Linked DNA regions of Homo sapiens: region 1 is linked to region 2. The links are contacts of gene promoters, found by promoter capture Hi-C in human tissues and cell types (Jung and others, 2019). All regions are on one chromosome and are shown on one strand. The core of a region is centred on a gene start or on the middle of the fragment in contact, and the rest is flanking DNA. Distances in the headings are between cores, read along the strand shown. Region 1 holds the start of RASSF1 (Ras association domain family member 1). Region 2 overlaps GNAI2 (G protein subunit alpha i2).

Evidence for each region. Contacts are between HindIII fragments. The study calls those that stand out against the background at their distance.
Region 1: the fragment with the promoter of RASSF1 here is called in contact with a fragment that was not itself captured in region 2 in 2 of the 25 tissues and cell types used here (dorsolateral prefrontal cortex and spleen).

What each region holds. Positions count from the first base shown.
Region 1 is chr3:50,337,605-50,342,085 of GRCh38, reverse strand. RASSF1 (Ras association domain family member 1) reads left to right here and starts at 1,250. Exons shown (of 6, transcript NM_007182.5): 1 at 1,250-1,530; 2 at 4,075-4,181. The coding sequence starts at 1,281. ZMYND10 (zinc finger MYND-type containing 10) reads left to right here. Exons shown (of 12, transcript NM_015896.4): 9 at 1-71; 10 at 155-276; 11 at 387-512; 12 at 601-974. The coding sequence ends at 676. RASSF1-AS1 (RASSF1 antisense RNA 1) reads right to left here. Exons shown (of 1, transcript NR_109831.1): 1 at 3,786-4,481. RefSeq lists enhancers at 499-1,321, 1,322-2,145, 3,712-3,801, 3,882-4,141, 3,969-4,481 and a silencer at 991-1,510. The HindIII fragment of the contact is 7,648 bases long and covers 1-4,481 here.
Region 2 is chr3:50,241,188-50,246,149 of GRCh38, reverse strand. All of the region lies in intron 1 of GNAI2 (G protein subunit alpha i2), which reads right to left. Among named protein-coding and RNA genes, the nearest start is that of GNAI2, 7.5 kb to the right of the region's middle. RefSeq lists enhancers at 1-63, 2,131-2,740, 2,673-3,032, 2,741-3,351, 3,323-3,462 and 2 more and a silencer at 4,563-4,612. The HindIII fragment of the contact is 4,121 bases long and covers 650-4,770 here.

The sequences.
Region 1 (4,481 bases), core at 1-2,500, 97 kb before region 2:
TGCAGAGTTTCCTGGCCCATCTGACCCTAACTGAAACCCAGCCTCCTAAGAAGGACCTGGTGTTGGAACAGGTAGGCACTGGAAAGTTAGCTGCTCAGGACCACTGTCCCACTTTACCAGCACCTTCCTGCCACTCTCCACTTCTCTCTCCTAGATCCCAGAAATCTGGGAGCGGCTGGAGCGAGAAAACAGAGGCAAGTGGCAGGCAATTGCCAAGCACCAGCTCCAGCATGTGTTCAGCCCCTCAGAGCAGGACCTGCGGCTGCAGGCGCGAAGGTAAGGCCTGTGGAAATGGCAGGGAGGGTGGAGGGGATGCAGGAGGCATGGATGTGGGTGGGGTGCCCCCACCTTCCAGGGCCAGTCAGACCTTCCTGACTTTCCCCCAGGTGGGCTGAGACCTACAGGCTGGATGTGCTAGAGGCAGTGGCTCCAGAGCGGCCCCGCTGTGCTTACTGCAGTGCAGAGGCTTCTAAGCGCTGCTCACGATGCCAGAATGAGTGGTATTGCTGCAGGTGAGGGTATCCTAGAACCTTGGACCTCTAAGCCCTACTCCCACATCCCCCACATGCATTGCCATCCTCAATACCCACCTGCCTGCAGGGAGTGCCAAGTCAAGCACTGGGAAAAGCATGGAAAGACTTGTGTCCTGGCAGCCCAGGGTGACAGAGCCAAATGAGGGCTGCAGTTGCTGAGGGCCGACCACCCATGCCAAGGGAATCCACCCAGAATGCACCCCTGAACCTCAAGATCACGGTCCAGCCTCTGCCGGAGCCCCAGTCTCCGCAGTGGAGAGCAGAGCGGGCGGTAAAGCTGCTGACCGATCTCCCTCCTCCTCACCCCAAGTGAAGGCTCGAGACTTCCTGCCCCACCCAGTGGGTAGGCCAAGTGTGTTGCTTCAGCAAACCGGACCAGGAGGGCCAGGGCCGGATGTGGGGACCCTCTTCCTCTAGCACAGTAAAGCTGGCCTCCAGAAACACGGGTATCTCCGCGTGGTGCTTTGCGGTCGCCGTCGTTGTGGCCGTCCGGGGTGGGGTGTGAGGAGGGGACGAAGGAGGGAAGGAAGGGCAAGGCGGGGGGGGCTCTGCGAGAGCGCGCCCAGCCCCGCCTTCGGGCCCCACAGTCCCTGCACCCAGGTTTCCATTGCGCGGCTCTCCTCAGCTCCTTCCCGCCGCCCAGTCTGGATCCTGGGGGAGGCGCTGAAGTCGGGGCCCGCCCTGTGGCCCCGCCCGGCCCGCGCTTGCTAGCGCCCAAAGCCAGCGAAGCACGGGCCCAACCGGGCCATGTCGGGGGAGCCTGAGCTCATTGAGCTGCGGGAGCTGGCACCCGCTGGGCGCGCTGGGAAGGGCCGCACCCGGCTGGAGCGTGCCAACGCGCTGCGCATCGCGCGGGGCACCGCGTGCAACCCCACACGGCAGCTGGTCCCTGGCCGTGGCCACCGCTTCCAGCCCGCGGGGCCCGCCACGCACACGTGGTGCGACCTCTGTGGCGACTTCATCTGGGGCGTCGTGCGCAAAGGCCTGCAGTGCGCGCGTGAGTAGTGGCCCCGCGCGCCTACGAGAGCGGAAGGGGCAGCCAAGGGGCAGCGCAGTCGCCGCGGGTCAAGTCGCGGCAGAGGGGGTCGGCGGGGACAGCTCCCGAGGACTAGGTCCGTTACTTTCGCCCCATCGCTGAAGAGTGCGCGAAAATGGTTTATCCCTTGTCGCACTCCACTCGTATCTGGGCCACAGATGAGCAGAGGTGGCTGCTTATATGTAAAAATACGCTGATTTTAAGTTTCTTATCTTTAAAATGCCTTGGCCCTTCTTGAGAAAGGGTTTGTGCCTACTGTCCTCGGAGTCCATCTTCCCAGGCTTGCCTCTTCTCAAACACTCATGACCCCCTCCAGAACCTTTAGGGTGAAGGGAAATTACCACCTATGGGAGGGAGCCTGGAAAAATTTAGAACCTTTGGTGGGCCCCCTGCAAGCAGGAGTTTTGTTGAGTCTTTATTTAGCAAACACCCTTTTCTGACCCAGTGAATCAGATGCTAAAATATGCACGCAGCCACACACCCAGCAGTCCTTCTGCACCCCTGGGAATCGCCAGCAAGCAAAGGTTGCTCTCCCCTGGGTAGACACCAGCTGGAATCACCAGGGGTGCTTTTACAGTCCTCCCCGCTAGCCTGGATCCCACCGCAGACCTGTTGAATCAACTGCTGGGAGTGGACCCTAGGCATCAGTAAATTTTAAAAACTCCCCAAATTATTGTAACATGGAGTCTGGGTTGAGCATCACTGCTCTGGCCTATTTAGGAACTTGTGGATGGATAGTGTCCCAGGTCTGTGTGTGCATGGAGACCCTCTCATCCGGTACAAGAGGACATCACAAATTCAGCTGGGGGGAGCACAAAGTTGTGACAGAATGCAAAGAATGAACAAGGGGCCGAGCGCGGTGGCTCATGCCTGTAATCCCAGCACTTCGGAAGGCGGAGGCGGGTGGATCACCTGAGGTCAGGAGTTCAAGACCAGCCTGGCCAACATGGTGAAACCTCATGTCTACTAAAAAATAAAAAAAAATGAGCCAGGCGTAGTGGCGGGTGCCTGTAATCCCAGCTACTCGGGAGGCTGAGGTGGGAGAATTGCTTGAACACAGGAGGCGGAGGTTGCAGTGAGCCGAGATCGTGCCACTGCCCTCCAGCCTTGGCGACAGAGTGAGACTCTGTCTCAAAAAAAAAAAAAAAAAAAAAAAGAACAAGGCTGGGACATTGCAGCGTTCTCAAAGAGAAATAAAGTAGCCATGGAGATAAGAAGCAGGATGATTTGGGCATGTTTATCAGAGGTAGAGACAAGGGAGAAATCAAAGATAAGTTTGGGCTTTTGTCTCCAGTAACTGGGAGCCTAGTGGCCATTTTTGCTGCAAAGAGGAAGCTGGGCAAGTGTAGCAGTGAGGCTGAAGAAAAGGGAATTAAATTTTGGCCATGTTCACTTGAAACGTCTTTTAGACATCCTAGTGAAGGTACTGGCACGGAGGATCTAGTCTGAGGGTTTAGGTCAGTGTTTCAGCCGTGGATCTGGGGCAGATGAATGTAGACAGACCAGGCCAGTGATCAGGACTGAGCCCAGACTTCATCGTGAGATATGGAAGTTGAGTCAGAATCTGCAAAGGAGCTGAGCAGGAGCTGCAGGGGGTAGGAGGAAAACTGGGAGAGTGTAGCCCCTGGGAGTCAAAGGGAGCAAGCTTCAAATGATGCTGAGGGGGTGAGAATGGAGAATGGAACACTGGATTCCATTTGGTAGTACACAGATCGCTGAGGACCCTGTCCCGGGCAGTTTCCTGGAGGAAGAGGCAAGCCTGGCTGGAGTGGGTAGAGGGGAGAGTGAAGGCGAAGGATTAGAGTGTATAGAGACCAGTGTCTTGGTCTGAGGGGAGTAGAGACAGGTGACAACCACAGGGCAGACGTAGGTTAAAGGTGTTTAGTTTTTCCTTCAAGTAAATGGGCAGATGTATTCCATATACGTTCCCAGTGAAGGGCCGGGTGCGGTGGCTCAAGCCTGTAGTCCCAGCACTTTGGAAGGCCGAGGCGGGTGGATCACCTGAGATCAGGAGTTTGAGACCAGCCTGGCTAACATGGTGAAACCCCGTCTCTACTAAAAATACAAAAATTAGCTGGGCATGGTGGCGGGCGCCTGTAATCCTAGGTACTCAGGAGGCTGAGGCAGAAGAATCGCTTGAACCCAGGAGGCGGAGGTTGCGGTGAGCCGAAATCGCGCCATTGCACTCCAGCCTGGGTGACAAAAGCAAGACGCAGTTTTTTGTTGTTGTTTTTTTAATTGCCAATGAGGAAAGGGGAAGTTCTGTGCTAGGCGATAGAGATCCAACTGTTGAGCAGGCCTCTCTGCCTGTGGCCTTCCGGCCGGTTTCCAGACGCCCAGGTGGCCAACATTAGAGTCCGCGTAGCAGTGTGAGGTAACCCACTGAGATAGGTCGGGCCTGCGGAGCCTGGCGAGCAGCGGCCCTCTCCCTGGGGCTTCCCTTCAATCTCCGGGACATTTCCCCGACCTGGAGCTCCTCCGCCTCACCGCCAGGCCTCTCTGCAGATTGCAAGTTCACCTGCCACTACCGCTGCCGCGCGCTCGTCTGCCTGGACTGTTGCGGGCCCCGGGACCTGGGCTGGGAACCCGCGGTGGAGCGGGACACGAACGTGGTGAGCGCGGGGCCGAGGGCGTATGGGAAGGGCGAGGATGGGCAGGCCACAGTGCAGGCATTCTCGAGGGCTGCCTGGGTGCCGCGCGCAAGGAGCGTTCTAATTGCCGATTTCCCGGCGGCACAGAGAGGCTAATTCTGCGCGGGGGCTGGGAGGGGAGCCTGGATTGCCGGCTCCGCAAGTACTCCACCCGCTGCAAGCGGACCCGGGCCCAGGCTGACCCAGGCTCCGCGCACGCGCACTTCCCGCACCTTCCCGCCCTCGCCTCCGGCCAGAGGCCACTCTTGTGCGCTTGCCCGG
Region 2 (4,962 bases), core at 1,461-3,960:
TCTGAGCCCCGCCCCTGGCGTCTCTTCCTTCCTCCAGGTGCTGCTCCCCGGCCCCCCTCATTCCCTCCGAGAAGGCTCAGCACGGGTCCGGCACTGGGAGGCAGGGACTCGAGGTCTTGAAAGGGACCGGCAACACTCCCACCCATGTGTGTGGCATGGCCCTATAACGGATGCCTGAACAGACCAACAGACTCCACACCTCCCTCCCGCCAGTCTCTGGCACTCGGCTGCCTCCAGCGGCTTCCAGGGGTTCACAGTGCCCAAAGGGGAGCACTACCAAGCAGGGCCTGGCTTCCTACTGCCAAGTCAGAGATCTCTGTGTTAGGGAAACTGAGGCCTCAGGTCCTGCCCACACATGGGAAAGTCTTTCTGGGGCAAGGTGTGTCTCCCTCAGTGGGGCCCTTTCCACTGCACAGAGGGAAACTCAGGCACCGGGTGAGGAAGGCTGGCCTGATATAAAGGAGGCCCCAGACCTGTTCATCGCTGGCGCCTCAGGCCCCAGGTACCGCCTGTGCAGGAGCCAGGAGGTGCTGGACAAGACGCGGATCACGCGGAGCTGGGCCATTTGGCACCGTCTCCCTGGAGGCCTCTTCATTTCAGGCATCCCTCCGCTGTTCCCAAGGCACCTGAATGACCTCTTTTCCCTTCTGATTCATGGCGGTGGACTCTGGGAAAGATAACGGGAGCCTAGGCCTCATCTATGAAATGTACCCCTTGAGGGAGGGTGCCAAACCCAAGGCCTGCCCTGAGTAGCCTCTTCAAAGTCACCCCAAACTGCCTCAGGGCCCAACCCAAGCCAGCAGCTGTCCTTGTGTCCACAGGCCAGGAGACCATGCTAAGAATCACGGCACTGGCGGGGCGGGGTGGCTCACGCCTGTATTCCCAGCACTTTGGGAGGCTGAGGTGGGCGGATCACCTGAGGTCAGGAGTTCGAGACCAGCCTGACCAACATGGAGAAACCCTGTCTCTACTAAAAATACAAAATTAGCCGGGCATGGTGGCACATGCCTGTAATCCCAGCTACTCTGGAGGCTGAGGCAGGAGAATCACTTAAACCTGGGAGGCGGAGGTTGTGGTGAGCCGAGATTGCATCACTGCACTCTAGCCTGGGCAACAAGAGCGAAACTCAGTCTCAGAAAAAAAAAAAAAAAATCACAGCATCACAGATTCTAGTGCTGGATACAGAGAGGGAAGAGGACAGTCTGAGGTCTCATGGTGAGGAACTGGACCCTCTGGGACCCACAGTCTTGGGTGGCCATGAGGATGCACGGGTCTCTGCTCTGTGCATGGCTTCATGGCCCAGAGAGGCTTGGACGCTTCTGCTCTGGCTCTCCTAAGCCTTCCTCAGCCCCCTCAGTCCCTTACGGCCTGGCCTGGCAACACAGCAGAACCCCTAGGAACCCCTACAAGAGAGGGCAAGGCCCCACTAGGCCACAGCACTGAGATTCGGAGGCCAAGGAGCAAGAGGAACCAGCCTCAACAACTATCATGCAGTCATCAGCCAACACCATGGCCACATTCTACCACCACACAGTACCGTACGTGCACCCAGCACTGAGCCTGTGCTCACAGTGCAGCCCTAAGGAACATGCTTTCATTTCACTCCTCTGGACAATTCCCAGTCTCAGAGGCCCTCACCATGGACTTCAATAGCTTCTGAGCCTTCCCCAGGCTTGGTCTCAGTCTAAGACTGGGGCTTATGGGAGAACAAGCATAATATTAGGGAAAGAATGAAGTCCTAAATTGCCAGCTATAACTTGAGCATCACTGTGAGAGGATACGGACTAGGAGAAAAAGTGGGAAGTCAAAAGGTGCAGCTGCAGCCGGGCGCAGTGGCTCACACCTGTAATCCCAGCACTCTGGGAGGCCGAGGCAGGCGAATCACTTGAGGTCAGGAGTTCGAGACCAGCCTGACCAACATGGTGAAACCCCGTCTCTATTAAAAATACAAAAATTAGTTGGGCGTGGTGGCACGTACCTGTAGTCACAGCTACTCAGGAGGCTGAGGCAGGAGAATCGCTTGAACCCAGGAGGCGGAGGTTGCAGTGAGCCGAGATCATGCCACTGCACTCCAGCCTGGGTGACAGAGTGAGACTCCATCTCAAAAAAAAAAAAAAAAAAAAAGGAGTGGAGGGGGTCCCCCATGACCACATGGCTGTAGAAAGCTTCATACACAGAGTCTTGGGTCCCACCTTCCAGGACAGACAGCTCCCTTTCCGCCTCCTAAAAGAAGAATTGAGGCCCGAAAGCCAGGGCCCATAGGCACAGGCAGAACACACACGCACCCACACCGTCTGCCTGCTGTCCTGCCTGATCCGTTACTTCCAGCCAGCACAGACTCCCAAAGGGCCATGGCAGTTGGAGGCAGGCGCTTAATCACTACATGGGTCATGTCCTGACATCTCTGTTCCCTGTTTAAGTGCATAAAGTCCCTGAGCTTCAGTTTGTCCATCAGTGAAATGGGTGTAATATCAGTCCCAGCCTCACAGGATTAAATATGACAAGATAATGAAGAATTCAGCTCCACACAACAGTCAAGGCTCAATCAGAGACAGCTGTGGTTATCACCTGAGGGGAAACAGGCCCAGTGAATGCAGCCCTAGACCCAGTGAGTGGGTGCTGGTAGGGGAGAATCCTTAGGCTGAGGCCAGGGATCCTTTGTCCGCCCCCCAGCAGGGGAAACCCAGAGTGAGCTCATCTCGGGGCTGTTGCTGCATTTCCAGGCATTCATCTCAGCCTGTGGCTGGCCTTCCGGCTTTGGAGAGCAATGGCCGCTCGGGAATCTAAGAGCAGCCCTCTGCCTTCCTGCTAGCCCTCCCGCCAGCGTCCTTCTCCCAGCCACAACTTCCTGTGGCCAAAGAAGGGGCCTGGAATCCTTCTCGAAGGCACCACCTTCTCTGGGATCTTGGGCCCGATGGTTGCTGGGGTGGGACAAGGTACAGAGCTACCTGGACTGGCTCCAACTCAGTGACCGCCACTAGAATGGCCCACAGGAGTGCAAAGATAAGCCTGGGCAGGTGTTCACCTCCTAGACCCTTCCAGTTGGCAAAGCCCTGGGGGGCCCTTGGGCTCTCACCCCCACCCTAGCACCAGGCAGCCCTCTGGCCTCTTCCTCTTTTGGGCTCCTCCTCCCCCAGCTGCTTCCTCCTTTTCCTCTGGTGTGGACACCACTTCCCCGAGAGGCCCAGCCCTGCCCTGCCATGTCGTGCAGACTTCATTACCTCCTCCTCCCGCCGGGGGCACACACAGTAGGTGCTGCCATCACCTCCTTTGCATATCCTGAGGCTGTCAGCAGCCTTGGAGCCCCCAGATTCCTCCAAGCCATAAGGATATCTTCTCCCCAACAAGGCTGAGATGACCCCACCTTTAGGCCTTTGCTCAGACTGGTGTGGTGCTGCCTTTCAAGCCTTGTAAATGTGCACAGAGGCCGGCACAGAAGAACCAGCCCAGCAAATGTTTGGTTATTCCAGAAAGATTCTTCCTCCCCAGCCACCAAGAGCAGCCACAGCCCCAAGAAGTAACATCAGGGTGAGGGTGGGGTTGGGGTTTAGTAAGAACGAGAGCTTCAAGCTAGAAGGGCTGGGTGGGGCTGGGCAGACGGGGTTCCACCCTGCACCTGTAGCTGAGGGAAGGGCTGCCTGAGAGCATCAGGTACCAGGGACACCATCAAAGGGCCCAATCCTTTGCCTTCCCCAAAGCACCTTGCAGAGCACTCTTAGGCAGGGTGTATCAGCAGTGGCCTGGCCAGAACCTGCTGACCCCTTCCCCTCCTCGCTCAACTCCTAGGCTGGGATTCCTGGCCTGAGATGCTGGGAAGATGAGACTACTCCCTGGCCTGTACCTTGCCCCCATCTGCCCGGTCCTGCCTCCCCCCACAGCACAACGGGATGTAGGGGAGGCAGCACTCAGGCTCTGGGGTGACAGTCTCCTCCTCTGCTGTGGGTGGGGTGGGGGGAGTCCCTGGTTCCTCAGTGGCTAAGAGCTTGGGTGGACAAAGCTTCCTCCATCCTGTTCCCGCCAAGTGAATGGGTGGCTTTTAGAGACAGACTGAGAGAGTCACAGCCAGGGACCAAGAACTAAGATCAACGGCAGAGTATACAGGACCTGTGTGTCTGCCTGTGGCCCAAGTAGCCCCAAGTGCACCTACTGCCCCACCCCCTGCAGTGCTGGAGGCCTAGGGACCTTGCTGGGACCTGACCACACCCCACCCTCAGCACTACCTGCTGCCACTTGCCAGGCAAACTGATGTTCAAGGGCCTGGGACATCAGTGATGGCACTCAGTGACCCTACCTCTCAGGCCACCCAGGGCCAACCGCTGACAAGCTGCCCAGGGCCAAAGGGGTCCCGGACCATCCCCAGGCCCCATCCAGCAGCCTAGGCTCTGACACATAGTGGGTGGTGTGATGCTGCCTCAGGGCTTCTGACATGGAAGCCTGTGTCCCGCAACTGGTTTGACTTCCACCTCCTGCCACAGCAGCGCGGCTCATTCTCTCTGTCCTCACACCTGCTCTGCCCTCTGTCTGGGGTTCCTCTCCCCAACCCGCCTGGGATGCCCCCAGCTGAGCTCCAGCTGCCCTGATTCACCTAGTCTCTCAGCTCAGAGGTATCCCTTAAAGGACCTAGTCTCACTCCTACCCTAGAGGTATGACCTCATGTTGGCTGCACTGACACTGGCGTGAGAGGCAGGGGCTGAGCCTAGCAGAACTGGGCAGGATGCAGGCAGAGGGGGTCAGCTATAGCTTGGACCCCTGTTCACTCCTTAGTGTGGGAGCTCTATCCCTGCCTGCTCCTGCAGACAAAGCCCCGACAAGCCTGGGGGAGGGGTGGGAAGAAGAGACTCAGAGGCCCAAGCCGCCCCGCCCCCCATTCAAGTGCTAATGAGCTCCAGCAGTGAAGGAGAGGGCTGGGGTAGAGTGTAGGGGCTGGAGGCCAGCCTGGGTGGGTACTGGCCCACCTGGCAC